Regions from separate parts of the Homo sapiens genome. Here regions 2, 3 and 4 are each linked to region 1. The links are contacts of gene promoters, found by promoter capture Hi-C in blood cells and fetal thymus (Javierre and others, 2016). All regions are on one chromosome and are shown on one strand. Each heading gives the region's core, a stretch centred on a gene start or on the middle of the fragment in contact. The rest is flanking DNA. Distances are from core to core; before and after follow the strand shown. Region 1 holds the start of YAF2 (YY1 associated factor 2). Region 2 has its middle 12 kb from the start of TMEM117. Region 3 overlaps IRAK4 (interleukin 1 receptor associated kinase 4). Region 4 has its middle 120 kb from the start of LINC02461.

Region 1 (2,992 bases), core at 250-2,749:
AAGTAATAAATCACAGGATTATATTTAATTCAAAGGGTACCTTCGTATAAGAATCAAGGAGCTCGATAACTAAGTGCTGACAGATTAAGAATGCCACTGACTGAATTTCCTGGATGATTTTCTTTATTCACTTAATTCAAAGTCATTTTTTAAAAGACAGAGTTATTATACTGCAAGCTTACAATAAATAAAGTCTGAAAATAGGCAGAGATCTTTTCATCTCATTTGTCTAAGAGACTGCCATTTAATCAAACTAAAGATATAAAGGTACTTTCAGTAAAAATCTGTTCCTGTGACTGGGCTCATCTCCAACTACTTATTTATAAAATATTAGAGTACTGGAATAAAAACACTAAATAAAACCTTGATCTGACCCTTCCAGAAGTACATGTAGAAAAATAAGTTTTAATATATTGTGTATTCTGCAATCAGATACTTTTCTTTCTTTAGGAACGAAATTAAATTACATCCTTTGCTCCTAAAGAGATTTTATGGGTTTTCCTTGATCCCCACACACTAACACAACAATGCAGCCAACATTTTTATACCCAGAATGGGGAGAGGGGCATTACACCCAGCGATACGAATTAAATCGCAGTAGCTAATGCCTCCCTTAAATAATTTATTCTCTCTTGGCAGCAAAAAACGTTACAGCCTCTTCAATTACCCCTCACCGCAAACCATCGCCTGGGTTGCGATCAATGTGACCCAGTTCCTATCGCCACAGCCACCTCCGTCTGCCTCCTCCCGCCGGGTCCGCCAGTGTCATGGGAGGGGGCGGCAGCCGCAAGGGCGTCCTCTGGTCGCCACCCCGCCGGCCGGCGGCGCGAGGGGCAGGCCCGGGACTCACCGGGTGGAGGTGCCCTTCCGCACATCGCACATCATGCACTTGAAGGCCTCGGCGCTGTTCCGGAAGGTGCAGACGCTACAGTCCCAGTAACCCTCATCCGAGGACGGCTTCGGCTGCCGCTTCGGCCTGCAGGACACAACCCGGACACGACGCGGCGCGGGGTCACCAGCAGGCCGCGCCCGGTGCCCGGGCCCCGCGGCCGCCCCCGCCCCGCCCCCCGCCCCAATTCTGCGACCCCCGCCCCGCGGGCCCTCGGCGCGCCGCGCTCCGGCTGAGGGGGAAGGGAGTCAGGAAGAGGCAGGGCGCGAGCGCGGCCGCAGTCGCCGCCGCCACAGCCGCTCTGACACCCGGGCGGCCGCTCCGGTCGCCGCCGCCATCGCGGCTCCATTGTGGGGCGGCCGGCGCCGGCCCCCTCAAGCGGCAGCACTCGCACACCAGCGGCGCTGCCCCCGTGCTCGCCCCGGTGCCCGGGCGGCTAGCGAGGCGGCCACCCGAAGCCCTGCACGAGGGCCCTGCCGCCCGCACAGTCCGGGCCCCGGGGCCCGGGCGCTGTTACCTGGTGGGGCTCTTCTTGTCTCCCATGGCTTGGCTATCACCGCACGCCGAGAGTCGCCGCCGCGACCGCTCTGTTTGTCAATAAGGAGGATAATAAGCCGGGCGGAAGCGGGCGGGGGAGGAGGGAGGGAGGGGGCGGGGAAGGCCGCACCGCCGCGCTCGGGAGCCGCCGCCGGATCCCACGCAGCCTCCAGCTGTCGGGGAAACTCCTGCCTGGGCGCACGTGACCCTCGCCGGCCAACCAGCAGCCGCGCCGGAGACTTCAAACGCGGCCAGCGCGGCCCAGCACCCGCGGCGAGTTAGCCGGCGGGCGGTGCGGGGGTGGCCGCGGTGGCCGCGGCTGCCTCGGGCGCCGGCGCCGCCTCTCCGCGCTGTTCCCCCGTTGCCCCCTTGGTACCCCCGGCTGCCGGGGACTGCCTCGCGCTCCAGAGCCCCTCTGAGGAGGAAAACGTCTGTCCCACCGACTGGCAGGGGATGCTCCGTCATCCCGTGCGAAGCCTGGTCCAAGGTAGGGCCGGCCGGCGTTCGGAGGCCTGTCCAGGTCTGGACAGAAGTGCCAGCCCGGGATCTCCAGGTAGAACGACTTTCCTGGCCTCCGCTGTCCTTAGCTACCCAGCCCCCGCCTGCAGTATACCGGGGGGAAGGCGGGAACCAACACGCAGCGCCATTGCTACATGCCTTAAAGCACTGTCTGGTTTATGCACACAGATGCTCTAACAAGTAGGGATTGTCAACCCTAACTTAGAGGAATTGAAATCAAGACTCAAGAGAGATTAGGTGACTTCCTCTAGGCTATATAATTAGAAAATGACAAAGCCAAGAGTCTAACTCTGTTTTAATTCCAAACGCGCCCTTTTGGCCTCTCAGGCCTCTGCAGTAGCTGCTTTTGAAAGAAACCCCTATATACTCATAAGTCCTTTTTAAATATAAGGAGTTTGCATGTCCCCTCAACGCTGTCTGCTAACAAAAGAACACCTTCCCAGGTCTCTACGTCAACATACTAAAGGTCCTCATACTCCAGACTCCAGCAACAGCCATCTAACTGGTCTCCGAAGCTCCACTTCTACCTCCCCAATGTATTCAGTAATCCACAACCAGATTAATAATAAAATGCTGTTAATACTATGCCACCACTCTGATAAAGAACCACTAACGACTTGCCCACACTCCTTAGCCTGGCATTCAAAGGCTTCACACATTTTCCCTACCTCTGCCTCCCTCTCCCATAAGGAAAGCTGCCTCCTGACAAAGAGTGCAGATGAAATTCATTCCCTTACCAGAACCCTTCCTTCATGCACATGGGTTACTTCTGCATAAAGTATATCCCTCTTTAACTGTGCTGTTTCTGTCCATCTTTCTAGGTTTACATCAAGTCCGAATTCATGTAAAATAATTTTATAGCTAAACTACATAGGAAATAATACAGTCAGAAGCCCAGGATTCTCAGCCTGCTTCTCCTGTTTCTTAGCTGATAGACCTTGGAAGTATTGCTTAATTTCTGTAATTCTCAACGTTTTCATATTCTGAATTGCATCTATATGAGATTGTTGTGCGATTAATAATAACATTTTTTGGCCGGTTGCGGTC
Region 2 (2,992 bases), core at 233-2,732, 1.6 Mb after region 1:
CACTGCACTACAGCCTGGGCAACAGAGTAAGACCCTGTCTCGAAAAAAAAAAAAAGGGTAATCTACTGAAATTTGAAAACCTTTTTCTCTCTTTAATAGAGATAATTATAACTATTAGACTTATTGTACAAATGGAACCCACAGTACACGTTTAAGGGATATCAAGTCAAAGTCATGGACCCAGAGGGTATGATGATACTTTTCCATTGAATTTATGGCAAAGCATTTATACAGAAATTTTATTATAAAAATTTGAGGACATTTATTAGGCCTACTATCCACTGGAATGAAACTTGATGTATTAAGAAGGTAATAGGAGATGTGCCAGGATGTGTTTACTTATACTATTTCATTTAATCCTCACTGCAGTCCATACATTTTATGTTATTAGCCAAAAATGTTAGATATGGGTATGTGTCTCAGAGAGGTTAAACAACTTGGCCAAGTTCACAGATAGAAAAGGTAGCAAAGTAGAATTTGAACCCAGGCCTAACTCCAAAAATCTACCTCCTTTCCATTATACTATACATTTATTGAGGCTAAACGATGAGATGATCAAGAAAAGGATAACTACATTTTTTGGTGAGGCTGAAAACAATCTCACAGTAGAGAGAACAAATTTGTGTGAGTGTAATTTCATTTTTATTTCTTTATTTATTTATTTTTTTGAGACAGAGTTCCACTCTGTCTCCAGGCTGGAGCACAGTGGCGTGATCTTGGCTCACTGCAACTTCCGCCTCCCAGGTTCAAGCCTCAGGCTCTTCTGCCTCAGGCTCCCAAGTAGCTGGGACTACAGGCACGCGCCACCACACCCAGCTAATTTTTGTATTTTTAGTAGAGACGGGGTTTCACCATGTTGGCCAGGATGGTCTCGATCTGTTGACCTCGTGATCCACCCACCTCAGCCTCCCAAAGTGCTAGGCATGAGCCACTGCACTGGCCATGAGTGTAATTTAAAAAAAAAAAGCTTTGTGTGCTGATAGTGATTAAATTGAAGTACTTTCCATACCAGTTCAAATGCTAATTTCCTATTGTTTTCCTTTTTACTGTAGATAAGAAACATTTGTGCCAGCTTAATAGTTTTAACAATAGTTTGACAAATTACTTACATTAGTATACATATACATTCTCACAGCAGGAAAACAATAAAAATTTCAGCTGTCTAGCATTGATATTTTAAAAAATAATTAATTAGCTAATTAGTTAGCTAATCCATTAGCTAATATTGTGATGTAATTAAACAAAAGAGACTTGAGAAAGTTCATTACTTGAAGGAGGGGCAATTTTCTTGAATTTCTCTCACCAAGCATGTCTATCGAATTCTAATACAGAATCCAGCCTTCCACAGTCCTAGGGAGGCTCTCTGGTCAAACGAGGTGGCATTGCTTTCTCCTGAAGAAGAGTGATTTCACTAAGGCTTGAGGGACTTGCCAGGATTCATTCTGGGAGACCCAGGTGTCCAGCTAATTTGTGATTAGGAGGGAATCTATCCCTATTGGTAGAATGCAGAAGTATCAGTTTTGGTGTCAGACTTCACTTGGCCTGAGGTGAGTGCCGCTTCCAGGGTAGCAGCTCTAGTTCTCTCAAGAGGACATGAGACTTTGGCAACTATGGCTCCAGGAAATGGGCTCTAGGAGAGGATAAAACCAGCAGATAAGGTGGAGCCTGTTTCATGTGATTTTCCCAAACCATTGTCATGCTTGCTCAGGGAAACCTTGAGATCTGTGACAGGAGAGGCTAGCGTGGGGCCTTGGATGCAGGAAGGCAGCTGCTGAGCTAAGAAAGCCCTGTAGGGCCGGGCGCAGTGGCTCACGACTGTAATCCTAGCACTTTGGGAGGCCGAGGCAGGCGGATCATGAGGTCAGGAGACCACCTTGGCTAACACAGTGAAACTCTGTCTCTACTAAAAATATAAAAAATTAGCCGGGCATGGTGGCGGGTGCCTGTAGTCCCAGCTACTGGGGAGGCTGAGGCAGAATGGTGTGAACCCGGGAGGCGAAGCTTGCAGTAAGCCAAGATTGTGCCACTACACTCCAGCACCCCAGCCTGGGCGACAGAGCGAGACTCCGTCTCAAAACAAAACAAAACAAAACAAAAAGAAAACCCTGTGGTAGGGTGCACTATAGTCCCCAAATGCCTTCAGAGGCCAGGCAACCAGGTGGGGAACTTAAATGACTGAAGACCTTGTTCGGCAACTGTATGCCATTCAAGAATGTAGACCCTGTAAGGTCAGTTCTTTTGGTTTTCATGAGAAGCTAAACATTCTGTTTTTGTTTAAAGTGAAATCTACTGGTTTTTAAATATTTGCAACTCAGCTGAAGTTTTAAAGTAGTATGAGGATCAAAGAAAATAATCCACAGGAAAAATTGCCACTAGTTTACAAGGGTTGGCGTAGAAGCAGCTATTTGGAACTATGGAGGGAAGGGGGCTGGCCTACCTGCTTTTAAGGAATATTGATTTCATTAGTTTGGCTGGGTGGACCCCAAGCGCTGGATTATCCCAATATGCAGCAGGGGTTGATCCCTACTCACTTAAAAGGTGGTATGAAGTGACTGGATTCTAGGCACCACAGGGCCCTATCCATAAGCCTTTCCTGGCTACCTTCTCTCCTCATTCTCTCTATTCTCCTCAGGTGATTTTATCTTCATGTGAATGAATAAATCACAGATGCATCTGTCTGTGTTTGGTTGGCAAATCCAATGACCAGAATACTCCCTTTGACATAAAGAACGTGATTGTATTTATTATTAAATATTATGTGATTATATTATTATTAAATATTATACTATTCAAATATAGGAAGAGCAGTAACATGAATAATTCCCTTTCTATGTGTTTCTCTGAATTAAATGTGCATAAGAGTTATTTAGGAAGTTATTACAATGAAGATTATGAAACTCCACCTCAAGAGATTCTGGTTTAGTAGGTAGGGTTCTGGAATTTGTTTGTTAACACCCACCTGAGTTTACTGTAACACAGATGGTCTGGAGAC
Region 3 (2,992 bases), core at 298-2,797, 1.5 Mb after region 1:
ATGAGTGGATTAATGTCGTCATGGCAGGAGTGGGTTAGTTATCTAGGGAGTGGGTTTCTGATAAAAGGATAAGTTAGGCCCTATTTTTCTTTTTCTCTCTCTCTCTTTTTTTTTCTCTTTCACATGCACGTGTGCATGCTCTTTTGCCCTTCTGCCCTTCCACCATGAGATGATGTAGCAAGAAGGCCCTAACCAGATGCAGCCTCTCGATCTTGGACTTCCCAGCCTCCAGAACCGTGAGCCAAATTAACTATTATTTATAAATTACCCTGTCTGTGGTATTCTATTATTGCAGCACAAAATGGACTAAGACAATAGACTAATTTTGTTTCTTTGTTACTTACTTTTAAGGAGATTTGAAGCATTACTTCAAACTGGAAAAAGTCCCACTTCTGAATTACTGTTTGACTGGGGCACCACAAATTGCACAGTTGGTGATCTTGTGGATCTTTTGATCCAAAATGAATTTTTTGCTCCTGCGAGTCTTTTGCTCCCAGGTAAACTGATTGTGACCAGGGTGTCCACAATTAGGGTGGAAAGACAAATGGCAGAAATATAAATGTTTCTTCTTACTCTTCCTTTTTTCTCATAGTAGATGAAGCTTACATTTGAGAGTCCCTTTCTTTCAGCACTCCTCAACTCTTTAAAAAGCAGCACAGACAAAGGACACTGTGGACTCTGCTGCTAAGGTGATAGAAGCTTCGTAAGAGTTAGATAGTTTTGTGCCAACAGGAAGTTTAGAAGGAAAGACTTCATACTTCTGGCTTAGGCTGTAAGAAAGTAATTATAATTTTGAGTTCTTCCTTTTTTTCATCTTCAACTTCTACCCTGATGGGACTCTATAATCATAATTTTAAAAAATTGTATTCTGATGTGGTAGTGTCTAGTTGCCTTCCTTATAAGCTTTCTTTTTTTCCTTTGATGCCTTTCACACCAGTGGTTCTCAACCTTTATCATGCATAAGAATCACTTAGGTTCTGGTTAAACATGTAGTTTCCTAGGGTCTGTTCCAAATCTATGTAATCAGAATTCTGGAATTGGGTTTAAGGTCTATATTCTTAAACAGGTGCTTCAGTGCCTCTGATATAGGTGGCTCATGGATCACTGTTTGAAAACACTGCCTTACTCTCTTTACCCATCTTCATTATAACTTACAGATTCTTACTAGGCAGCTTCTTGTGTGTGCTGTGAGAATATGAGACCAACCTGTAGAAACTGGAATGATATTAAATGAACCAAGTTTCTAGTTTAACTTTTTCACAACCACTTTTTCTTACTGAAAAACCACTTGTATCTTACTTCATTTGTTAGATGCTGTTCCCAAAACTGCTAATACACTACCTTCTAAAGAAGCTATAACAGTTCAGCAAAAACAGATGCCTTTCTGTGACAAAGACAGGACATTGATGACACCTGTGCAGAATCTTGAACAAAGCTATATGCCACCTGACTCCTCAAGTCCAGAAAATAAAAGTTTAGAAGTTAGTGATACACGTAAGTAACATTTTCAGTGCTTTCCACTAGGGATTTGTCATTAAGACTACCAGTGCTTTAAAAGAAAGCTCTTGCTCTTTTGTTTGTGCAGCAATCACAGGCACACTGGCAATAGCTCTTTTGTGAGTTGTTTCCTCCTGATATATTAAGAACCATCTTCATTGTATTAATCAGTGATTAGAGGCAATAGGACATGCAAACAACCAGAGAAGCTATGAAAAAAAATAAGTAAATATTTACATAACTTGGAAAGGTCACTTTTTAAAATAAAATATGTGACTAGAGTTTTGGGTAGGTAGACTAGACCCACTCAAATGTGTGACTAGAATTTTGGGTGGGTGACTACAGTGTTCAGAGGGTAGGATCACCAAACAGAGTTCTCAAGAAAAACTTATAATTTGTATTTTAGAAATGGTTTTATCTTCTCTCATCTTGTCTAATTCAAAATCATAAATATTTGCATATATGTGAAATCTTCAAATGAGAAAATATTATAATTATTAAAACGAATTTTTAAAATTTAAGCATGTTTTTCTTATTTTGACATAGGTTTTCACAGTTTTTCATTTTATGAATTGAAGAATGTCACAAATAACTTTGATGAACGACCCATTTCTGTTGGTGGTAATAAAATGGGAGAGGGAGGATTTGGAGTTGTATATAAAGGCTACGTAAATAACACAACTGTGGCAGTGAAGAAGCTTGCAGCAGTAAGTTATATTTTCAGGAATAAAAAGAAAGAGTTGCTTCATAGTGTGCCCTATAATAGGTTTTAAAGTTAATCTTTAGGAAATACATTATTTCAGTATGTATTTTCTTTAAATAAACATCATTCTAAATAGTAGTTCTTAAAATTTTAAAATCTGTTGAACACTATGGACCCTACCCCTAGAAAAATGTGGTTATGTCCATGTACACAAGATCATACATACAATTTTGGGAGATTCACAAACTAAAGTTGAGAAGCCCTGCTCCACATAGTGCTTCATGTGTAATCAAGATTAAAATGGTAAGATACCAGGAAAACTATTTTTAAAAAACCTTGTTTGCATTACTTTTCCCATTTAAAAATAAAATTTAGGAAGTATACATTAAGAAAAAACATTAAAATTTTTTTTATCTGTGTCCTTTGTTGCCATTTCTACTGAGGTGTTTACCTTTTACTTACTTGTTATATTCTAAATCTTTTGTTAGAGCCTAAAAATATCAATAGAATGCATATGTATGTGATAAAGATAGTCACTCTTTGTCATATATGTTGCAGGGCTTTTGTAGGGTTTTTTTTTCCATTTTGCACCTAAATTGCTTATGTTTTCTGTTTCCTAGAATTTTTTTCAAATTTTTTTGTGTAGTGAAATTTCGTGTTATTTCATTTTGTTTCCACAACTCAGTGAAATTTATATATATTTTTCATTCCACTAACCAGCCATGGGCCTTGAGCAAATCACTAGTATTTCTAGATCTCAGTTATTCTGTAGAATTGGGAGAATAATACACT
Region 4 (2,992 bases), core at 251-2,750, 1.0 Mb after region 1:
GTACAATTGCTTCATTGTGTATGTAGGTTCTCCAGATCCAAGTTTAAAGAAAGGCTGTACTGCAAATTAAAAAATCACCAATAAAATATTTCGTAACAGTCCTTTAGAGAAGACTGAGATTCCAATGACAAAAAAAGCCAATAAATCAAAATCAATTACTAAACATCTGCTGTGTACCAAGAAAATGTGAAATGTATAGGGAGGCTCCAAAAGTAAAGAGGACATGGTCACTACTCTTGAGAAGCTCAGAACTTGTGGGGAAAACATGGACCCAAAGTAACCAGCACTCCAAGATAAAGAACACGTGGCAAGTTGCCAAATGAGCAGTATAAGAATACTTTAGGGCTACATATGTTTAAAAGAATGAGCGATAGTTGTTAGACAGAGGTGATCAGAAACACTTATTGTTGTTTTAGAGGAAGTGAAACCTGAACTGTCCCTTGAAGAATGGAAAGTTTTAGCAGAAAGTTTATTTTTGCCTACAAAGATAAAATTCCACGTAACAGGCTTGAGTTACTTCAATACTGCAAATATAGACCGATAAAAATCGAATTTAATGCAGTAGAAACCCATCTCATTACCTGCAGTTCCATATCATTATTTTGAAATATTTGTTACAATGAAAAAAAAGATTTATGAAGAATATAGTATCTGTCAAATACTTTTTGAGATGGTTATGGTTCTTGTCCCTAAAGGTTTTAATCTACTTAGAAATTTCAAATAAATAAGTTATTAATTTGAGGGCTGGGCACGGTGGTTCACGCCTGTAATCCCAGCACTTTGGGAGGCCGAGGCGGGTGGATCACAAGGTCAGGGGTTCGAGACCAGCCTGACCAACATGGTGAAACCCCGTCTCTAATAAAAATACAAAAATTAGCTAGGCGTGGTGGCGGGCACCTGTAATCCCAGCTACTCAGGAGGCTGAAGCAGGAGAATTTCTTGAACCCGGGAGGCGAGGTTGCAATGAGCCGAGATCACACCACTGCACTCCAGCCTGGGCGACAGAGTGAGACTCCGTCTCAAAAAAAAAAAGTTATTAATTTGAGTAATATCTAAGACAAGATACCTAACCCAAATTAAGGAAAGTCAGAGTAGGATTCTTGGGAAAAGGAGCATCTAAACTAAAGCTTTATTAGAAGTCAAGTAGAAGTAACAAAGTTTCTGAAATGAGAAATACCTGTATATGGTAAATCAAAAGAAGGTCAAAGTGGTGATATGAAGGTACTTGTGAGAGTAGAAGGGGCAATAGAGAGTTTAAACAGTGTTTATTAAATAGTGTCGAGAAAAAAGGCCATGATGATGCCATAGAGCAGCTGCTCTCTAGTAGCATGGGTCCCTGTGGGTCTTTGAGACACTTTCACAGAGTCTGTGAGTCAAATAATTTTGGCATAATGCTAGTACATTATTTGTGTGTAAAAGCTCATTCTCTCGTAAGTGTACAGTGGCATTTTTCACTGTACATTTGGAAGAACCATGTAAAAGAGTGAACCAATATATTCCAAATAACAAATCATGATGTTACAAAAATCATGCATAGATAAAAATCCACTAAAGGTGCAAGATAGGCCAATGTACAGAACTAGACAGACTATAAAGCAGTAGTCCCCAAACTTTTTGGCACCAGGGACCAGTTTCATGGAAAACAATTTCTCCATGGACCAGGGGGTAGGCGGAGATGGCTTTAGGATGAAACTGTTCCACCTCAGATCATCAGGCATTAGATTCTCATGATAAGCATGAAACCTAGATCCTTCACAGGTACAGTTCAGAACAGGGTTTGTGCTCCAGTGAGAATCTAATGCTGCACTTATCTGACAAGAGGCAGAGCTCAGGCAGTAATGCAAGCAATGGAGGTAGTGGCTGTAAATACAGATGAAGCTTTCAGTGGCTCACGCCTGTAATCCCAACACTTTGGGAAGCTGAAGCAGGCAGATCACCTTAGGTCAGGAGTTCGAGACCAGCTGGGCAACAAGGCGAAACCCCGTCTCTACTAAAAATACAAAAATTAGCCTGGCATGGTGGCAGGTGCCTGTAATCCCAGCTACTTGGGAGGCTGAGGCAGGAGAATTGCTTGAACCTGGGAGGCGGAGGTTGCAGTGAGCAGAGACCGTGCCGTTGCACTCCAGCCTAGGCACAAAAAATGAAACTCTGTCTGAAATAAAGAAATATAATAAATACAGATGAAGCTTTACCCGCTCACCTGCTGCTCAACTCCTGCTGTGCAGCCCGGTTCCTAACAGACCACGGACCAGCCACAGAGGTTGGGGACCCCTGCTATAAAGCATTCATGAATATGATTTTAGATTTCATATTGCAACTAATCTTTAAGAAACTATCACTTTTTGAATTTTGATGTAACGTAAAAGATGAATATTCACAACTACTAAAATGGCTATTCAAATACTCTTCCCTTTTGCAACTATATATGTGTATGAGACCAGATTTTTTCATATACTTCAACTGAAGCAACAAATCACAACAGATTTGCCAATCTAGCTAACTTCCGTGAAGCCAGACCTTTAAAAGATGTTCAAAACTGTCAAACAATTCTACTTTTATAACTAACTTTTGGAAGACGGTAGTTCCTTTTCATAAGAAAATGGTTATTAGTGTTATTTTTAAATGAATTAATTTATATATTTCAGTTTTAACTTTTAATATGATAATTGTAACTAGATATAACTCACTTAAACTCTTTCGGGTCCATAATTTTTAAGGGTATAAAGGGGTTCTGAGACCAAAAATTTGAGAATATCTGCCACAGACAGTGCCCTGGAGATTCTACTTTAAATCTGCTTGAGATCTCTTTTTTTCTTGACTCTGTGTGATTGGTGAACATTTGGAAGTGGAAGTAACTCAACGTTTATTGAGAGAGCTTACTAAGTGTTCACTCGTTCATTCCCTTTTTCCAACTGCCTATTTTTATAAGCCTGAATGAATAAATGAATCTTGCTTTCACTTCACTACCCAACAATAGGACGAGCTCCTTTTT

Evidence for each region. Contacts are between HindIII fragments. The CHiCAGO score rates a contact against its expected background, and 5 or more counts as called.
Region 2: a fragment that was not itself captured here is called in contact with the fragment with the promoter of YAF2 in region 1 in 1 of 17 cell types (non-activated CD4 T cells); the score reaches 6.7 in non-activated CD4 T cells.
Region 3: a contact is called between a fragment that was not itself captured here and the fragment with the promoter of YAF2 in region 1, in 1 of 17 cell types (total CD4 T cells). The highest score is 5.5, in total CD4 T cells.
Region 4: a fragment that was not itself captured here is called in contact with the fragment with the promoter of YAF2 in region 1 in 1 of 17 cell types (total B cells); the score reaches 5.4 in total B cells.

What each region holds. Positions count from the first base shown.
Region 1 is chr12:42,236,749-42,239,740 of GRCh38, forward strand. It overlaps YAF2 (YY1 associated factor 2), which reads right to left and starts at 1,500. Exons shown (of 4, transcript NM_005748.6): 1 at 1,407-1,500; 2 at 851-976. The coding sequence starts at 1,432. It overlaps LOC124902920 (a long non-coding RNA gene), which reads left to right and starts at 1,697. Exons shown (of 2, transcript XR_007063279.1): 1 at 1,697-1,979; 2 at 2,389-2,530. RefSeq lists silencers at 626-955, 1,076-1,145, 1,246-1,625, 1,676-1,915, 2,106-2,245 and an enhancer at 791-1,292. The HindIII fragment of the contact is 7,822 bases long and covers 176-2,992 here.
Region 2 is chr12:43,822,861-43,825,852 of GRCh38, forward strand. It overlaps a transcript of TMEM117 not described here. Among named protein-coding and RNA genes, the nearest start is that of TMEM117, 12 kb to the right of the region's middle. The HindIII fragment of the contact is 1,034 bases long and covers 966-1,999 here.
Region 3 is chr12:43,770,869-43,773,860 of GRCh38, forward strand. It overlaps IRAK4 (interleukin 1 receptor associated kinase 4), which reads left to right. Exons shown (of 12, transcript NM_016123.4): 3 at 352-497; 4 at 1,312-1,494; 5 at 2,044-2,204. Among named protein-coding and RNA genes, the nearest start is that of IRAK4, 13 kb to the left of the region's middle. The HindIII fragment of the contact is 1,292 bases long and covers 902-2,193 here.
Region 4 is chr12:43,278,094-43,281,085 of GRCh38, forward strand. No RefSeq gene overlaps it. Among named protein-coding and RNA genes, the nearest start is that of LINC02461, 120 kb to the left of the region's middle. The HindIII fragment of the contact is 751 bases long and covers 1,126-1,876 here.